2 separate regions of the Homo sapiens genome follow, and region 2 is linked to region 1. The links are contacts of gene promoters, found by promoter capture Hi-C in human tissues and cell types (Jung and others, 2019). All regions are on one chromosome and are shown on one strand. Each heading gives the region's core, a stretch centred on a gene start or on the middle of the fragment in contact. The rest is flanking DNA. Distances are from core to core; before and after follow the strand shown. Region 1 holds the start of CCDC17 (coiled-coil domain containing 17). Region 2 has its middle 21 kb from the start of MAST2.

Region 1 (3,690 bases), core at 163-2,662:
CTCGAATGTAGGCCTCCCGCAGCGCCCTAGGGAGTGGGGAACAGGAAGGCCGTCTTTCCAGAACTGCTCAGCGCTTCGCCCTATGCCCATCTCCGGCCCCGGCTCTCACCGGATTTCGGCAGCCAGAGTTCCCGGGTTGGCCTTTTGCACTGGAGAATAAAGTTCTGCCTCTCGCCGGGAGCTCAGCGGGTTCCTGGGGTGGCAGGCGACGCGCAGGGAGACGGTAACGCATCAGAGGCCCCGGGGCTGCAGCCAGCCCGCCCCTCCCACCCCGGAGCCGCATGTTCCGGGGATCCGCTTAGTCGGGTCTCACCCTGGCTCCGCCTGCAGCTCCTGAATGCGGGCCCCCAACACCTCTAGAGCTCCCCGCGTCCTCCCGGCCTCAGCTTGTAGTTCTCGAATCTCCTGCTCCAGGCCGAAGAGGCGGGACATCCCGCCCCGCGTACAGGCCACAACTTGGAGGCGTCGGCTCAGTTCTGAGGGAATGCGGGCCGAGTCAGAACCGGCCCGAGCAAGCTTAAGCCAAACGGCGAGGGCAGAGGAGGTCCTTGGTCCCCGTCCCCCATCTCCTTCACCCTCGCCGCGTAGCTGCAGGGCCCGGCTCTGCGCTTCCATCTCCGCCACGCGCCTCGCGCGAGTCCTGAACAGCGCCCGCAGCCGCTCGCTGGGGCTTCCCACCGCCTCGGACATGGGACTCTGAGGCCGCGCCTCGGAACGTGTCCAGGGCCCCGCGAACACCCTGGGGACCTCTGTTATCCAGGGCCGCATTTCCTGTAGGGATAGCCGCAGCCACTGCACCTGGAGGTAACAGCGATCCGCGATCTCTGCGTGGGCAGAATCTGTCCCAAGTATGATCTACAGGTTTGGGGAAGACGCTCAACGTTTTGAGCCCTGGGGGAAGGTAGGTAGCTCTACCTCCTCTGTTAACCTCTTTAGAGCAGATCTACTGGCCTGCTGGTCTGGGAGGCCCTGGGGTTCTTGTGGCACGCCCTGGTGTTCTTGTGGCACAACCTGGGGATAGGGTGTAGTAGGATGAGGAATCATAAAGGTCCTGGCTCCTTTGAATCCCCACCCATGGCCATGGAGGCCCTTACCGCGGCCCGCTGGGGTTCAGTGGCAACTGATGCCTGTGCTCCAAATGTCATCTCTTGGGTCGGGTGGCCAATGCAGAAGCGCTGAGTATGGGTGGCTAACAGAGCTGAGGAGCGGAAAACCATGTCACAGGTCCCACAGGGCAGGAGCGCAGGCTCCCCAGAGTGGGAGTCCATGGGATGGGACCCGTTTCCTGAAACCAGCCAAGACCTGCAGAAGGGATCAAGGGCAGGGGAAAGGCAGAGGAGGATGAAAGAGACATAAAGCCAGAGGCAGAGAGGAAAGGCCGTGTCTATTAGGTCTGTGAGATCTTCAAGTTTGTTTGGGGAGAGCCTTAGCTCCCTGGACAGCAACCACAGGGCTGGGCAGGTCAGGAGAATGGGTGGGGAAACCTCGGCCGTTTGGGAGGAGCCACTGGCTTGAAAAAGTGTTACAAAGTCTGAACGTGGGCAAGTCTCTAATTGTAGCTTGGTTTCCCTGACTATTAATAAAGAGGAAAAAGCAGCTGCCTCCTAGACTAGGCTGGGCCCTTATCACTTACTACATCATTGGTCATTTAATAGCCTCTAAAAGGCAAGTGTCATCTTTTTCATTGCTGTACTCCCAAGTGGATGTAACAGTTTGTACCATTCTCCAATCCAGAGAACTACCTGGCAAAGGAGGCACTCTGACCTTTCCAGCATTCTGCCTGGAAACCATGTCGCACCAGGGATAGCAGTCTCCCTAACTCCCATTCCCTGATTCCTCATTTTTCAGCTGTAGACGAAGATAATCAGCACAGCCCAAGAAATGAAAGCTGTGGGCGAACAGAATGAATCTATCAGATGAGGGAATCAAGTCCAGAAAAAAACCCCTTCTCTCTCCCAAGATTGGCCAGAAGCCAGAAAGACCCTGAACTGTTGGTGAAATTCTTCACTCCACTCCCACTCCCAAAATATATGGAGGAGCTCTGAGGTGACCGCATATTTCTTAAGAAACCCTCTTTACTTTTTTTTTTTTCTTTTTGAGATGGAGTCTCGCTGTCGCCCAGGCCGAAGTGCAGTGGCGCGATCTCAGCTCACTGCAATGAGCTCTGCCTCCTGGGTTCACGCCATTCTCCTGCCTCAGCCTCCCAAGTAGCTGAGACTACAGGTGCCCACCACCACGCTTGGCTCATTTTTTGTATTTTTTAGTAGAGACGGGGTTTCACCATGTTAGCCAGGATGGTCTTGATCTCCTGACCTCGTGATCTGCCCGCCTTGGCCTCCCAAAGTGCTGGGATTACAGGCGTAAGGCACTGCGCCCGGCCAAGAAACACCCTTTTCTCTTCTTTTTTTGAGACAGTCTCGCTCTGTTGCCCAGGCTACAGTGCAATGGCACGATCTCGGCTCACTGCAAGCTCTGCCTCCCAGGTTGACACCATTCTCCTGCCTCAGCCTCCCCAGTAGCTGGGACTACAGGCACCTGCCACCACACCCGGCTTTTTTTTTTTTTTTTTTTTAGACGGAGTCTCGCTCTTTCGCCCAGGCCGAAGTGCAGTGGCACTATCTGGGCTCACTGCAAGCTCCGCCTTCCGGGTTCAAGCCATTCTCCTGCCTCAGCCTCCCGAGTAGCTGAGACTACAGGTGCCCACCACTGTGCCCGGCTAATTTTTTTTGTATTTTTAGTAGAGATGGGGTTTCACCGTGTCAGCCAGGATGGTCTTGATCTCCTGACCTTGTGATCCGCCCGCCTCGGCGTGCCAAAGTGCTGAGATTACAGGCGTGAGCCACTGCGCCCAGCCTTATGCCTGGCTAATTTTTTGTATTTTTAGTAGAGACGGGGTTTCACAGTGTTAGCCAGGATGGTCTCGATCTCCTGACCTCGTGATTCCCCCGCCTCGGCCTCCCAAAGTGCTGGGATTACAGGTGTGAGCCACCATGCCTGGCCGAAACTCCCTTTTCTAAACAAGACAGGGACTTAAGACATTTCCCTACTCAGTACCTAAAGCCAAGGTATGACCCACCAGCAGCAAGTTACAAAGTGTTCAAAGTATGTCATCTCAGTTCAGCTTAATTCCAACTGACATAAAGAGTACATTTTTAGAAATATGTTCTCAGAAAACAAGTAAATGGCAAAGCCCAAATCAAAACCTCCTTTTCAACAACTAAGTTTGTCCCAATTTTCAATGGTTAAGACTTTTGACTGGTTGACTTTACAATGGTGCAACAGTGATAGGCATTCAGTAGAAATACTACTACCATTTTTTTTTTTTTTCCCTCAAGAGACAGCTTGTAGTTCTCTAATCTCCTGCTCTAGGCCGAAGAGGCGGGAGCAGGACTGTCATCCAGGCTGGATTGTAGTGGTGCCATCATGGCTCACTGTAGCCCTGAACTGCCTTGGAATCAAGCAATCCTCCTGCCTTAGCCTCCCAAGAAGCTGGGACTACAAGTGTGTGCTACCACGTGGACCTGTCTATTTTGTTTCTGTTTTTGAGACAGAGTCTTGCTCTGTTGCCCAGGCTGGAGTGCAATGGTGCAGTATGGGCTCACTGCAACCTCTGCCTCCTGGGCTCAAGCAATTCTCCTGCCTCAGCCTCCTAAATAGTTAGGATTACAGGTGCTTGCTGCCATGCCTGGT
Region 2 (3,578 bases), core at 721-3,220, 160 kb after region 1:
TATTGGAGTCTGTGGGTGGGGCGGGTGAAATCATGGAGAGATGCAGGGCAGGAGAATGAAACTTTGGTCTGCATAACTGCATGCTCTATCTGCAGCACTAGCAAAGAAAAGTTCTCCAGGCAGCTGATGCTTTGATACCACATGTAAGTGCCCAGCTTCTGTTCTGCAATATAGACTGCTGCGGTGTTGACTCCTGCTAATGAGGACCTCTGAACTTTCTCTACAAATATTGTCTTTCCAGAAAACAGAGCTGGGAGACCTGTATAGCCCAAAGGCAGCTATGGCTCCCAGGGAGGAGAAGAGGACCAGAAGAACTGGTGGCAGGGCAGAGAGGGGAACCAGGCAGGAGACAGCAGTGGCTGGAGAACAGGTGTGGGCAGACTGGAAGAAATGCAGACACTTGTTTCCCATCTTGCAAGATGGTGGGTGAAAAAGTTGAGAAGCCAGATGCTAAAGAGAAGAAACCCAAAGCCAAGAAGGCTGATGTTGGTGGCAAGGTGAAAAAGGGTAACCTCAAGGCTAAAAAGCCCAAGAAGGGAAAGCCCCATTGCAGCCGCAACCCTGTCCTTGTCAGAGGAATTGGCAGGTATTGCCGATCTGCCATGTATTCCAGAAAGGCCATGTACAAGAGGAAGTACTCAGCCGCTAAATCTAAGGTTGAAAAGAAAAAGAAGGAGAAGGTTCTTGCAACTGTTACAAAACCAGTTGGTTGTGACAAGAATGGCGGTGCCCGGGTGGTTAAACTTCGCAAAATGCCTAGATATTATCCTACTGAAGATGTGCCTCGAAAGCTGTTGAGCCATGGCAAAAAATCCTTCAGTCAGCACGTGAGAAAACTGCGAGCCAGCATCACTCCCGGGACCATTCTCATCATCCTCGCTGGATGCCATAGGGGCAAGAAGGTGGTTTTCCTGAAGCAGCTGGCTAGTGGTTTGTTACTTGTGACTGGACCTCTGGTCCTCAATCGAATTCCTCTACGAAGAACATACCAGAAATTTGTCATTGCCACCTCAACCAAAATTGATATCGGCAATGTAAAAATCCCCAAACATCTTATTGATACTTACTTCAAGAAGAAGAAGCTGTGGAAGCCCAGACACCTGATGTTGTTGGTGGATAGGAATGCTAGTGCTTTCTGCTAGTGATTGATTTTGTATCCTGAAACTTTGCTGAAGTTGTTTATCAGCTTAAGAAGCTTTTGGGGCCAAGCGAGGTGGCTCACACCTGTAATTCCAGCACTTTGGGAAGCCGAAGTGGGCGGATCACGAGGTCAGGAGATCGAGACCATCCTGGCTAGCATGGTGAAACCCCGTCTCTACTAAAAATACAAAAAATTACCTGGGCATGGTGGTGGGCGCCTGTAGTCCCAGCTACTCAGGAGGCTGAGGCAGGAGAATGGCATGAACCTGGGAGGTGGAGCTTGCAGTGAGCTGAGATAGCACCCCTGCACTCCAGCCTGGGTGACAGAGCGAGACTCCATCTCAAAAAAAAAAAAAAAAAAAAAGTAGATTGGAGCTGAGCGTAGTGGCTCACATCTGTAATCCCAGCACTTTGGGAGGCCGAGGTGGGAGAACCACTTGAGACCGGGAGTTCCAGACCAGCCTGGCTAGCATCGTGAAACCCTGTCTCTCCTAAAAATACAAAAAATAAGCTGGGGGTGGGGGGGTGTAAACCTGTAATCCCAGCTATATGGGGGATGCTGAGGCGTGAGAATCGCTTGAACCTGGGAGACAGAGGCTGTAGTGAGCTGAGATCATGCCACTGCACTCTAGCCTGGGCATCAGAGTAAGACTGTGTCTCAAAAAAAATAAATAAATAAAAAATAAAAGTAGATTGGAAAGCAATTGGTCTTCAAATGCTCATATCATTTGACCTAATAATTTCACTTAATCTATCCATTCTAAGAAGAGAAATTGACACATGGAGGCTATAGTAGACATCTCTTGGGGTATCTTCTCAGCTCACAAATGATTCACCATTTTTTGAGAATAGTGGAACTGATTCACATCACCACCTTTCTTATTCAAGCCTCAGAAGCAGAACCTTGATCCACTGACCACTGTTGATTAGACTGGGGTAGACACCTGGCCAAACTAGGTCAATTGTATTGTCTTTCTCACCTAGGAATTCTGGTTTAGTTTGGACTGATATCTAGAATGGAAGGAGTGTGAAAATTTAGGAACTGTATCACGGCTATTGTCCTCCAGATAGACTGAAAAACAGAGAAAGCCAGTCTGCAGAGAGAGGAGAATAGGGGCAGAGATGTGGAGAGAAGCAGAGATAAGATGTAGAGACAAAATATTCTCTGGAGCATTTCACCTACATTCTAGTCACTTTTTGTATTCCTACTTCTGCATCCTGAGAAACACTTCAGTATCCTTATAGCAGCTTATATCTTTTCCTTAAGCTAGCTTGGGTGAGTTTTGATTATTTGCATCCAAAATTGTATCATACTTTACTGATAATAATGGGAATATTGAGTACATACTTACAAGTTATTTGCATAGTACATTATCAAACTGCCATTTAATGTTTTAGAGAACTATTAATGACATGGAAAATTTTTGACACACGAAGAGTAAAAGTATTGAGATATACAATTTTGTGTGCATAGAAAAATTTTGCAGACACACAAAACTTCTAGTAATAATTACCCTGAAGTGAATTTTCATTTATTACTTCATATGCTTTGGGTTTATTTGAATTTATACATGGAACATTGCTAATATAATTAAGGTTACATTGAAAGTATTTTCTTTCTCTCTTTTTTTTTTTGAGATGGAGTCTCGCTCTGTCACCCAGTGGTGCAATCTCAGCTCACTGCAACCTCCACCTCCCGGATTCAAGCAATTCTTCTGCCTCAGCCTCCCTAGTAGCTGGGACTACAAGTGCACGCCACCATGCCTGGCTAATTTTTGTATTTTTAGTAGAGACAGGGTTTCACCATATTGGCCAGGCTGGTTCGAACTCCTGACTTTGTGATCCACCCACCTCAGCCTCCCAAAGTGCTGGGATTATAGGCATGAGCCACCGCACCCGGCCAAAAGCATTTTCTGTGTTGCTATATCCTTTTTATTTGGTATCATTTTAATGGTTGCATAAGGTTGCATTGTAACAGGATATCATAATTTATTAGGCCAGTACTTAACTATTAGGTTTTTGTTGTTGTTGTTGTTGTTGTTGTTGTTGTTTTTTGAGACAGAGTCTCGCTCTGTTGCCCACGCTGGAGTGCAGTGGCGGGATCTCGGCTCACTGCAAGCTCCGCCTTCCGGGTTCATGCCATTCTCCTACCTCAGCCTCCTGAGTAGCTGGGACCGCAGGCGCCCGCCACCAGGCCCAGCTAATTTTTGTATTTTTAGTAGAGATGGGGTTTCACCGTGTTAGCCAGGATGGTCTCGATCTCCTGACCTCGTGATCAGCCCTCATTGGCTTCCCAAAGTGCTGGGATTACAGGTGTGAGCCACCGCACCCGGCCAACTATTAGTTTGTAAATTATTTTTACTCTTTTAAGCAATGCTGTGAAAAACATCTTTAATACATAGGGCTTTTTTTCCACAGTTTGGATTATTTGCTTAGGA

The links. The method cuts DNA at HindIII sites, captures the fragments that hold promoters and counts their contacts. A contact is called where the count stands out against the background at its distance.
Region 2: a fragment that was not itself captured here is called in contact with the fragment with the promoter of CCDC17 in region 1 in 1 of the 25 tissues and cell types used here (ovary).

Annotation. Positions count from the first base shown.
Region 1 is chr1:45,622,642-45,626,331 of GRCh38, forward strand. It overlaps CCDC17 (coiled-coil domain containing 17), which reads right to left and starts at 1,413. Exons shown (of 13, transcript NM_001114938.3): 1 at 1,095-1,413; 2 at 916-1,011; 3 at 576-798; 4 at 314-476; 5 at 110-193; 6 at 1-26. The coding sequence starts at 1,268. The HindIII fragment of the contact is 15,886 bases long and covers 1-3,690 here.
Region 2 is chr1:45,780,858-45,784,435 of GRCh38, forward strand. It overlaps the pseudogene RPL6P1. Among named protein-coding and RNA genes, the nearest start is that of MAST2, 21 kb to the right of the region's middle. The HindIII fragment of the contact is 4,024 bases long and covers 1-3,578 here.